2 separate regions of the Homo sapiens genome follow, and region 1 is linked to region 2. Evidence: promoter capture Hi-C in 16 types of primary human blood cells and fetal thymus (Javierre and others, 2016). All regions are on one chromosome and are shown on one strand. The core of a region is centred on a gene start or on the middle of the fragment in contact, and the rest is flanking DNA. Distances in the headings are between cores, read along the strand shown.

Region 1 (5,988 bases), core at 411-2,910, 38 kb after region 2:
ATCCAAAATTGTGAGCTGCTGATTTTTGTTCTTTTTAGTTCTGTCAATTAAATTAACCAAAAGTAATTTGTGAAACACGAGTTTACATTCTTGAAAAAACGCACTGTGCAGTAATGTAGGTCTTCTAATGATAATGGGAAGCATTAATTATTATCGCTTTAAATACTCTACAACTACCCTCTGATCAGATTTGGAGTTATTTATCTTGCGCACTTAGGGAAAGGAGGCTTAAGCTTTAGGTAACATATTAATGGCTACACAGCTAAAAGTGTAGCATATTTAGAATCTAACTCTTGGAAAATTTTATTCCAAAGTAAGTACTCCTACCCACTCTGCTATGATTCTTCCCCACATAATAAATGGAATAACATCTAAAACTATTATCACCGTGTCTCAAATATTCTTTCCATAATAAATTTATCTACAGTTGAAGCATACATAAGAATTTGAATAATATAATTAAAAATGACAACCTTATTTTCTTATTTTCCACATCAGTTGCTTCAAAACATGACACACATATTATGATTCTAATTACCATTTGGATTTCTAAAAACATATGCCTTGAAATGTTTTAAATCATGTTTAGTCAAGCAAAGAGTAGCACAACAGAAATGCAAATAAATTAAAGGATTCAATTGTTTTTATAGAGAGACTAAGAAAATACCCAATAGGAATGAAAGAAAAGATGAGATTAAATGTTCCATTTCTGCTATTTTAACTACCTGGAGTCCTGTCTTCTCTGCATGACTCTAATGAGAGCATTTTTCACTTCTCTGTTTCTAAGACTATAAATGAGTGGATTCAGCATGGGAATCACAATAGTATAAAACACAGGAGCCACTTGATCTCTTCCCAAGGAATAAGACTTTCTTGGCTTTAAGTAAGTAAAAATCATAGTTCCATAGAAGATGGTGACTCCCAAGAGATGAGAGACGCAAGTAGAGAAAGCTTTCTGCTTTCCTGAAGTGGAATTAATTTTCAGGATGGTAGAGAGAATGGACACATAGGATGCAGATATTGTGATAAGGGACACCATCAGGGTGGAACCAGCGATAATGAATATCAGCATTTCAGTGTTGTCTGTGTCAGTGCAGGACAGAGCTAAAATTGGGGAAGTGTCACAGAAAAAGTGATGAATTATGTTTGAGTCACAGAAATGCAATCTGCTCATGGAAACCACATTGACAAAGGAGTCCATAAAGCCAATCACATAAGGCCCAGTGATGAGAGCGAGGCAGAGCCTTTTGGGCATAATAACTGTGTAGTGTAGAGGACTGCAGATCGCTGCATAGCGATCATAGGCCATTGAGGAGAGAAGATAACATTCAGCAGTACCCAAGAAGACAAAACAGAACATCTGGGCAAAGCAGCCCGTGAAGGAAATATAGTTGGAAGTCAGTAAGTTCGCTAAGGTTTTAGGTGTGACGACAGTTGAGTAACTGAGGTCAATAAATGACAGGTGAGTAAGGAAAAAATACATGGGAGTGTGAAGCTGGAGGTCCAGGCGGATTATCAATAGCATCCCCACATTCCCCAGCATAGTAATTAGGTATATGAGGAGAAATAGCATAAACAGAGCCATCTGGACCTCTTCAGAGTCTGACAGTCCCGTAAGGATGAAGTCAGCCACATTTGTGTCATTCCTTCTACCCATCATGTTCACCTGCTCTAAACTGCTGAGAAATCAAAGTTGATACGTAGCAGGGGCGCCTGTACTCCCAGCTACTGGAGAAGCTGAGGCAGGAGAATCGCTTGAACATGGGAGCCGGAGGTTGCAGTGAGCCAGAGGTTGCAGTGAGCTGGGATCACACTATTGCATTGCAGCCCCAGCAACTGTGCCAGACTCCGACTCAAAAAAAATAAACAAAACAATCAAAAAAAATTTCTGTTTATATGAATGACCTAGCATTTAATAATTAGTTTAACATTCTACAAATTGCTAATAAATTTATAGAATATGACTAAAGAGACTAATTTTATTGCCAATATAGATATAAGTTCAAATTAACATTTGCATATGTTATAATAAAATGTAGCATATTGCATAATTAGAATGAACCTGACATTGTTCTGAATGGCTTCCTTTATTAATATATTTAATCCACCTGAAAATATTATACCATAGATACTACTATTATCCACATAGTTTAGGTGAGGGAAAAAAAGAGTATGGAAGGTTGGAGTAACTTATCCAAAGTCAGATCAATTCAATGTTGACACTGATTCTACAAAGATATATTCCTTCAGAGAGAAGGCTTATAATACTACAATCTTGTTTATAAATAATTTCAGAAAACTTGAGAAAAGAGGTGGACATGTAATAAAAAATGAGAGGAAACAGTTTTATTATATAATTTACTGCCCTTTTGTTTCCAATATTATTTAATAATAATTTTCAATAAATTTCACCCTTGGGGTTTTTAGTCAGGTACATTAAAATTATAGACAATATATAAGTATTAATTTATAAAAGATGTGATGTTTTCCTGACATAACTAATCAAAATCTAATTTCTTCCAAAAAATTATATTTTCAAAATGTATACTTTGCTTGTAGACTCTGATTCTGGCAACTCTACATTTGTCTCACAAACCCTGACATTACTTAGGGTAGAGAGTAAATGATATGTGTATATATTAATATATACATTAATATATATTAATATATTATTCTGCGAAAGTCCCCATTTTATTTCATCTGAAGTAAAATGTGAAACAAAATCTTCCAATTTTGAGAATAATACTTACTGTGTGTAAGTCAACATTCATGAAAAAACTTTCTTCTTATATTATCTGTATGGAAATTTGTCAACTTCAAATTTTTGTTATAAATAAAATAAGAAAACTATTTAAGGAGATGAAAATTTTTATAATATTTGTTTTCCTTGAGATAAGTTGTTTTTACATTTTGGTGCATTCATTATGTTTTATTCTGAGTTATGATAAACCAATCTAGAAATTTTGTTTAGGTTCTGGTCTAATGGAAAGATTACCAAGAAGTTATGTGTCAAAGAAGACCGGCAGCCACTGTGACCATAAGGAGATTATTCTTTCCCTCTCACTCGGATAATTCCAGAGGATCTCATATACCAGAGGCTGATGACAATGCACCTTTTGGTAGGCCCTGGGGGCCATTTGCCAAGGCAGATTGTTTGGCATGTTTCCAAGCACAAAAGTTCAAGGACTAAATGTAGCCATGTTAGGCTTTGTGCAAAGATTTTCCTTTTTACCTTAGAAGCCACACAAATGAAGGAAATTATGAATTGGTCTTTTCTTGTGATGTTCTCAATATTTTACAGGCGTGGTGGAGAAGGCATTTCCAGAAAAAATAGTTACTCTGTGACTGACATCATCAAAGATGGAATAATACATTTTTCACAATTAAATTTCTTAATATTTAAAAGTGCGATACTATCGTATATGTAAACCATGTTAATTGGAAAAGAATCAGAAGATAACAAAATTCAAAAAAAGTAAATGAAAACAATTCAAAACTGTCGTTAACATTTTGTTAACATTATAATTTTTCCTAATTATTTTCCTTTGTGCCTTATTTGTACATGTACTTATAGATGGCATAACAATTATTGTACTATACAGTCAGTGTCTTTTGCTCATTTAATAACCAAAATTTTATGCTATGCCATGAGCTATCTTATATTAACCTTTTATCAACCACACAATTCTACGGTTCATGTATTGGTTAGTGCCCCGTAACTTACTAAGTTAACTATGTGTTTACGAGCTGATAAACAGACATTTTGAAGCATTATCAGAAAGTGGTGTAGGTTATTCATTCTGGTGTGGTGGTGTCACCTAATTCATCTACATGCAATATTTGTGCACTATGTTTTGCTGTTTTCATGTACTTTTTAAAATTTTATGAAACAAAAGTGAGAGCAGAAAAACAAAATCAGCCATGAGACTAATAAACATTTTATAATTAATTTAGTAGCCCAAAACATACTTCCTCCATGTATAGTCAGGTCAATTTTTTCCTTAAATATGAGTTAAAATTAAAATATAAAAAGAGAGCTGAAATATTCTACTGAGAATTATTTGTCCAAGATGAGGAAGCAAGGGAAGATTCTGAAACAATATAAAATGTGAAACAGAGTAAAATATTAAAGTGAATCTTAAGTCATTATAAAAAAATCAATTTTATGTAAATTTTAAAGTGAGTCTAGAAGGAAAGCATGCCCATAATCTAGAATTTCAGGAGATAATCTGTTGGTAGGTATAAAGCGCTACATTTGTATGTATTTATTGTACCTTTGATGAGTTTTGGGAAGAGCGATTCTATTCACCAGAAATTTAGTGCTCCTGAGACAGGTTGATTTGAATATTTAAAAGCCAGCATCACACTCTTTAACAATAGATAACATTAGGGTTTAAGCCAAATAAGAGGCAAAAGGTGACTATGTCAAAACTACCTCAATAGGCTTGGTGATCGTAAAATCTCCGAGAGCAAGGGATTTTCTTGCTTGATGTTTTTCTAACATTGAAAACCATTTTGTTCAGGTTCAGAGTTGTTTATCATGGCAGGAAAATTATTTTCCCATTTACTAAATCATTGCTGAAACCTAATTCTGACCAGAGATTTTAAATCTCTTTCAATTTAAATGATGAAATAATGTAATGTCCTAGCTAGTTATACTTTTTATGATTTATTTATTTATTTAGACACAGAGTCTCACTTTGCCCAGGCTGAAGTGCAGTTGTGCTATCTTGGCTCATTGTAACGTCCACCTCCTGGGCTCAAGAGATCCTCCTGCCTCATCCTCCCAAGTAGCTGGGACTACAGGTGAACTCGCCACCAGGCTCAGCTAATTTTTTGTAGTCTTTGTAGAGGTCTCCCTATGTTGTCCAGGCTTGTCTTGAATTCCTGGGTTCAAGGTATCTCCTGCCTAGGCCTCGCTAAGGGCTGGGATAATAGTTGTGAGCCACAGTGCCTGGCCTTTATATTTTAAACTATGTTTCTTATCCTCTTCTATTCTCTCTCTATCTCTCTCTCTCTTCTGGAATATGTTTATTATTTTTTTTAATCTTTGGCTCAGTTAAAAAAATTACTTTTCTGATATATTTTGTTCAAATACTTATTAATTTGTTTATTCGTTAGTTATTTTAGTTATTCTTATTTTAACATTTTTTTCCCCTACTTTATCAGGTTGGGTTCATTATTTTTTTCTCCACCACCTAGTAAAAGTATTTTCTTATGGTTACCTGTTTAATATTATCAGAATTTAATATTTGCATTATCCATCCTGGTGTCACTCTTCACCTGTATACATAGTGATCTGAATTATTTCTATTGTGGCATATTATATAAATAGTCTAAAGTTAAATGTTTCGTTTCTTATTTGACTAAGATTAACCTCAGCTATGCTTAGTTATTAAGTTATTAAAATCATAGTAAATTTATGATTCTAATTTTTTAAAATTTTTAATTAAAATTTAAAATTTTAAATTATTTTTACTATTTATTTATTTATTTATTTGGAGTCTTGCTCTGTTGCCCAGGCTGAAGTGCAGTGGCACAATCTTGACTCACTGCAGCCTCTGCCTTCAGGGTTCAAACAATTCTTCTGCCTCAGCCTCCTGAGTAGCTGGGACTACAGGCACACCCACCATGTCCCACTTATTTTTGTATATTTTTAGTAGAGATGGGGTTTCACCATGGTGGCCAGGTTGGTCTCGAACTCCTGACCTCAACTGATCTTCCTGCCTCAGCCTCCCCGAGTGCTGGGATTACAGGTGTGAGCTACTGTGTCCAGCCAATATTTATTTTTTATTGAATTGCATTGTGGTTATGACTGCTTTAAGCCTTGTAAATTTATAAATTACTTTTAATCAACTGGTATAAATTACTCATAGATTCTGGGAAAGAAAGATCCAAATGTCAATATGCAAGTCTGGCTTTTTCTATTACAGTATTTGTAGATTATAAATTCTCAGTGGGGCAAACAGAAATAAATACAAAAATGAG
Region 2 (6,882 bases), core at 4,247-6,746:
ACAGAAACTACTTTCTCCTGTTCCACAGAATACTGGGAGCTTGGCTGAATGTAGCTAAAGCTTAAGGTACCGTAGAATATGGCCATAGCAGTTAGGTTAGAGGCACAGGTGGAGAAGGCTTTCTGTCTGCCTGATGCTGAGCAGATCCTTAGGATAGCAAAAGCAATGAAGATGTAGGAAATGATCACAATCAAGAAGGTGGCCGTGGCAATGACTCCAGAGAAGGTTAACAGCAACAACTCATTCATGGAGGTGTCAGAACATGACAGCTTTAGCAGTGATACATAATCAATGAAATATGCAGCAAAAATGCACAATATAAATGAATTTCAAAAACAATATATTGAGTGAAGGAAGCCAGATAAGGAGTATATATGGTGTGATTCTTTGTATTTGAAATTAAAAAACAGAAAAAGACAAAATAAATCCAGGGATAGGATTCAGTTACCCAAGGATGGGGGGATGTTGTTTGGGATTAGGGTATGAGGAAAATCTCCTTATGGAGATTTGTATTTTAATGCAAGTGGCCTATGAGGATATAAAGCATAAGGAAACTTTCTTTGTTGTTGAATAAAGACATAAGCAAAATACATGTTTAAGACTAATCAAAGTGTGCAATTTAGATTCATATTTTGCTATATGTTTCTCAATGTATATATTTATTTTAATTGACAATAACTCTATATATTTATGGAGTACAATGTGATGTGATGATTTCATCTATATATGCACTGTAGAAAGATGGGTCATAGACTGTGCACCATGTTCCATAACAAAGTATCCTTAGAAGATATTCTCTTTGTTTGTTTGTTTGAGAGGGAGTCTTGCTCTGTCACCAGGCTAGAGTGCAGTGGTGCGATCTCGGCTCACCACAGCCACCGCCTCCCAGGTTCAAGAGATTCTCCTGCCTCAGCTTCCCAAGTAGCTGGGACTACAGGCATCCACCACCATGCCTGGCTAATTTTTTGTATTTTAGTAGAGACAGGGTTTCACTATATTGGCCAGGATGGTCTTGATCTCCTGACCGCATGATCCACCCGCCTTGGCCTCCCAAAGTGTTGGGATTACAGGCATAAGCCACCGTGCCTGGCCAGAAGACATTCTTAAATCAGAATAGATAGCATTATTCAGTGATAAATATCATGGTCTTTGAATGACACAAACATATCCACTGAACATCAAATAAAATATTATTAACTCAATCCTTCTTTAGCTAGATCTTAAGATGCTTGCAGAAATGTCAAGGCACTCTGATATTAGTTGCAATGTGATGTTCTAGAAGTTGGAATGAAAAGAGAAAGAGGGCTTAATTGATCATGGTTAATATATCTTACATTTGCAACTTTCACACCATGGGAGATGGTGTGTACTATCTTCAGTAGATCTTACTCTTGATAAGGTTGTACTAAACTTTATCCAACAGTGGTGTTATCTCAGAAAATAGGACAGTTGTTAGCATGGGCTTGCCATATGAAAGGACTAAGTATATATGTCACTTATTTAGAGATTAGGTTCTAATTTCAAATATTCTAGTTATCAAGTATGTGACTTCTGGAAAATTACATAGTTTGTCTGAGATTGGTGTGTTCTGAACATAGGAATAGTATTATCTAACTCACATGTAAGGGTTAAAAGATATATCTTTAACTCAGTGCCTATGATGTACTTTTAGATAAATAATAAATTCAAATAATGAATCTTTTATGATAATATGTCACAATTTCATCATGACTTTGGAACTATTCCAGTTTTACTAGGCTGAAGCTGATGGCAGCGTGATGAAGTATTTTCATTGTTACTTTAATTGCTGACTCAGTGTAATTGAGTGAGTACTTTTACATCGCATAGGTCCCCATGGATCTGTTCAGAGCATTTATGTTGTTTTCTTGAATTGTTCCTTATATATTCTCACTGGGAAAACGTATGATGGGCTAGATAATTAGCATGCATATGAAGGCAGCTTTTTAAAGTGTCTCAGATGATTTGGGCATAATGATCTGAATGAATTATATACTACTTCCTTAAGGAACATGCCAAAAAGAAGAGAAAGCCCATAAATTCTTCCTATCCAAAGGTAAAGTACAAGTAATTTGAGAGAAGACAATTTGATTCTTCATTAAAGGTGAGTGGACAAAAATTGTCATTGATTTTGATTATTACCTGGGTGTGAGTAATTTTCTATTGCTGTAGATTCTGGCAATAGACATTTGTAGGGTCACTGATAGTTGATTCCTTCAAATACACCACAAAAATTCAGTATCCCTCTTAATAACCGGGGTTCCCTGGAGTAGTGTGATGTTTGAGAATTATCCTATGAGTTGAACAGAGGTCCTAGATCTATTGATTTGTGAGAATCAATAGTAGCATTTAGATATAGCAAATGAAGAAAAATTCAAATACATTAGAAATACAAAACCAAGTCATCAATGATCTTATCTTTTTCTTTCCTTTTTTTTTTTTTTTTTTTTTTTTTTTTTTTTTTTTTGAGATGGAAGCTCGCACTGTCACCCAGGCTGGAGTGCAGTGGTGCAATCTCGGCTCACTGCAAGCTCCGCCTCCCAGGTTCACACCATTCTCCTGCCTCAGCCTCCCGCGTAGCTGGGACTACAGGCGCCCAACACCACGCCCGGCTAATTTTTTTTGTGTTTTTAGTAGTGACGGGGTTTCACTGTGTTAGCCAGGATGCTGACCTCGTGATCCGCCTGCCTTGGCCTCCCAAAGTGCTGGGATTACAGGCGTGAGCCACTGTTCCTGGCCAATGATCTCATCTATTAGAATCTAGAAAGGTTAAGATTCCCAGATACAATGCAAGATTTCCATCTCCATTTTTCATATAATCAGGAAGTACTATGAACACATGTAATAAAATATTTCAAAAATAGTGTTTTAAAATATGTATTTTCTTTTTTTCTTGCTTTTTTTAATTATACTTTAAGTTCTAGGGTACCTGTGCAGAATGTGCAGGTTTGTTACATAGGTATACATGTGCCATGGTGGTTTGCTGCACCCATCAACCCGTCACCTACATTAGGTTTTTCTCCTGATGTTATCCCTCCCCTAGCCCCCACCCGCTGAGAGGCCCCGGTGTTCCCCTCCCTGTGTTCCCCTTCCTGTGTCCCCTCCCTGTGTCCATGTTTTTCTATACAACATTTTACAAGCTTCAAATAATTTCTAGATAGTGATATTACATATATAAACTTGCATATTTTTGGTTTATTTTTACTGAGTTACTACTATTGTTTTCCTTTAAACAATAGGCATTACAAACTGATTAAGTAGACTGTAAAATAAATAGAAATAATTTTTAAAGTTATAGAGTTACCAATAAATCCCTGAACTATCATTAATTCCTAAAAGATTTCATGAAGGCTAAAGACTGAAAAATAATTCCTTTGCATACTTTTTTATCCTGTCTTTTCTATTGGTTATCCCTAAACAAGGGTATTTAAAATGTATGCATAATTATTCAAATACGTTAGAAATATACTTTTTTCCATAAGAAAAACAGGTAGGATACAAAATTGAGAAATCTTCAGAGGGAGATAATAATTGACAGTGACAATGGAAATAGACTGAATAAAAACTAAAACCATTTTAAGCAAAGTATTGACTTCAGATTGGTGGGATTGATGTTGGAATTCTGAATTTCCTTTGCAATTCAGTGCATCTTCTATTCTACCATAAAACCCTATGTGAGCAATTCCTGCAATACTGCAAATTTAAGATAAAGTTTTAGAAATAGAATAGTCATGGTTCTTATCTGTGGGAAAAGAAAGACCTAAAAGAGGGGTGAAGTTCAATGGAGAAACAGCAGACAGCTTCATTTAGGGAGAAGGAATGGAAGAGGGTCACTAACCTCCACTGTTGCCCCCTTCCCACATCTGTAGTCCATAGATGAAGTTGGCAAAATGTCTCCCACTAATGAGCAGATACCTAGAAGTGTTGCCAAATGCCACAGTGTGGCTGTGGACTGCACCTGCTCCAAACTGTAGTTTTGGATCTTTAGGTGGGTTTTCAGAGTTTTCTACCTGAGGGATGTGCAGGCTAAAGCTGACATTCCATTACATTATAATAAATCTATTCTACATTAGATCTGTGGAAAATTCCGTTACTATTCCAATTGAAAGTCACTCTCACAGAGTTCCAGATTTTCAATGAGTGGAAACTGAAGGAGAGGGGAATTTAAGTGGAATAGGCTAAGACATCTTCACTATCTGTATCAGGGACGTTCCACTTTCTTTTATTGACTTCCCGTGTATTTTTTAAATAAAGGGAGAAGTACTTTTCATTGAAATAGTTTTAATTACAGTATTATATCTCCATGAATACTCCACTGTACAATTCCAGAAAAAAAGTCATTCACTAATATATGATGTCCTAAATTCTCAAATTATTTAAATGATTTATAGAACCTACCATCTTCACAGTGTTTTATTACAGAAAATAAAGTACATATAATTAAATAGTCATCACTGAATATTGATTTAAATCATGTTTTTGCAGAAGTGGATCCAGATTATGTGTCTTGAAGCTTAGAAGAATTTGACTTTTTAGATAAAATTACACATACAAGTTGAAAGATAAATGGGAATATTTATTTAGAATAGAAAATTAGCTTTAAATTGTAATTAGTAAACAAACCCATGGCCACAAACTATATAAAATTTATTAATATAGTATGTTAATTAATCAAATGCCAAATGCATCTCAGCATACAGGTGGCAAGAGTATCCTTAGAAGACATTCTTAAGTCAGAATAGGTAGTATTATTCAGTGATAAATATCATAGTGTCTGAATGATATAAACATATCCATTGAACATCAAATAAACTATTATTAACTCAATCCTTCTTTAGCTAGATCCCACAATGCTTGCAGAAATGTCAAGTCACTATGATATTAGTTGAAGTGTGATATACTAGAAGTTGGAATGAAAACAGAAAGCAGCCTTAATTGATCATGATTATTATATCTTACATTTGAAATTTTACAAAGATATATCATTTTTGCGTGCATTCGTAAGTCCCCACACAAGACCCTGGAAGTGCAAATGAGGGACCCCAAATCTTAACCTTCATTATCTTATTGCCATCTCTACCTCTGTCTTTGAGAATATCAAAATTACAGAAAAGTTTTACAACAAAAGTGGAAGTGAACAAAAGAAAATCATGATACCATTGTGCAGATGAAAAGAGCATAATCTTTTTGTAATAATACCTATATGGCTGTGTTATTAACCGATATACTTCAAATATTGATGAAACTATTTAATCTATGTTGTTTCAGTGCATGTATTTTACATGAATTCCTCTTTTAGGAAAGTAGAAAATTTTGCTTTATATTTCATTTCTGAATCAAATGTAGAAATAATGTTTCTATTATCTATTGTGAATAACAATCTATTCTGTCTACAAATATTATAATTTGTTTAAATAGCACTACATGGAACAGCTAATAACCCAACTGTTTCTTCCTAGAAGAGATAACTGGACTAAATGGGCCAACACAATCTAACAGTGCTAACTGAATTCATTCTGATGGAACTCACAAGGCGGCCTGAGCTGCAGATTCCCCTTTTTGGAGTCTTCCTCGTCATCTACCTAATCACAGTGGTGGGCAACCTAACTATGATCATTTTGACCAAACTGGACTCCCACTTACATACACCTATGTACTTTTCTATCAGACATTTGGCTTTTGTTGATCTTGGTAATTCTACTGTCATTTGTCCCAAGGTGCTGGCAAATTTTGTTGTGGATCGAAATACTATTTCCTATTATGCATGTGCTGCACAGCTGGCATTCTTCCTTATGTTCATTATCAGTGAATTTTTCATCCTGTCAGCCATGGCCTATGACCGCTATGTGGCCATTTGTAACCCTCTGCTCTATTATGTTATTATGTCTCAGCGACTGTGTCATGTACTGGTGGGCATTCAATATCTCTACAGCACATTTCAGGCTCTGATGTTCACTATTAAGATTTTTACATTGACCTTCTGTGGCTCTAATGTCATCAGTCATTTTTACTGTGATGATGTTCCTTTGCTACCTATGCTTTGCTCAAATGCACAGGAAATAGAATTGTTGAGCATACTATTTTCTGTATTTAATTTGATCTCCTCCTTTCTGATAGTCTTAGTGTCCTACATGTTGATTTTGTTAGCTATATGTCAAATGCATTCTGCAGAGGGCAGGAAAAAGGCTTTCTCCACATGTGGTTCCCATTTGACAGTGGTGGTTGTGTTCTATGGGTCTCTACTCTTCATGTACATGCAGCCCAATTCCACTCACTTCTTTGATACTGATAAAATGGCTTCTGTGTTTTACACTTTAGTAATCCCCATGCTTAACCCTTTGATTTACAGCTTAAGAAACGAAGAGGTGAAAAATGCCTTCTATAAGCTCTTTGAGAATTGATGTCAACTTTGTGTTTAATAATCAATTTGTAATATTGTTATAATAAATATATAATATAGATTAATGTCACTTGATAATTTTTCATGTGTATATAAATTTTCCAATTTTCAAATTTTTTTAATTGTTTTTTATTTCAATAATTTTTGGGAAGTAGGAGGTTTCTGGTTATGTGAATAAGTTCATTGGGGTAATTTCTGAGGTTTTGGTGCACTCATCACCTGAGCAGTGTACACTGTACTCAATGTGTAGCCTTTTATCCCTCGCCCACACTGCACACTTTTCCCTGTGTCCCCAAAATACATTATGTCATTCTTACCTATTTGTATCCTCATAGTTTAGCTCCCACTTATAAGTGAGAACATATGATATTTGGTTTTCCATTCCTGAGTTACTTCACTTAGAATAAAGGTCTCCAGCTCCATCCAGGTTGCTGTGAATGCCATTATTTTGTTCCTTTTTATAA

The links. Contacts are between HindIII fragments. The CHiCAGO score rates a contact against its expected background, and 5 or more counts as called.
Region 1: the fragment with the promoter of OR8H3 here is called in contact with the fragment with the promoter of OR8K5 in region 2 in 12 of 17 cell types (neutrophils, total B cells, monocytes and 9 more); the score reaches 14.5 in neutrophils.

The regions. Positions count from the first base shown.
Region 1 is chr11:56,118,045-56,124,032 of GRCh38, reverse strand. OR8H3 (olfactory receptor family 8 subfamily H member 3) reads right to left here and starts at 1,660. Exons shown (of 1, transcript NM_001005201.1): 1 at 722-1,660. The coding sequence starts at 1,660. The coding sequence ends at 722. The HindIII fragment of the contact is 10,899 bases long and covers 954-5,988 here.
Region 2 is chr11:56,158,931-56,165,812 of GRCh38, reverse strand. It overlaps OR8K5 (olfactory receptor family 8 subfamily K member 5), which reads left to right and starts at 5,496. Exons shown (of 1, transcript NM_001004058.2): 1 at 5,496-6,419. The coding sequence starts at 5,496. The coding sequence ends at 6,419. It also overlaps the pseudogene OR5J7P. The HindIII fragment of the contact is 6,274 bases long and covers 4,534-6,882 here.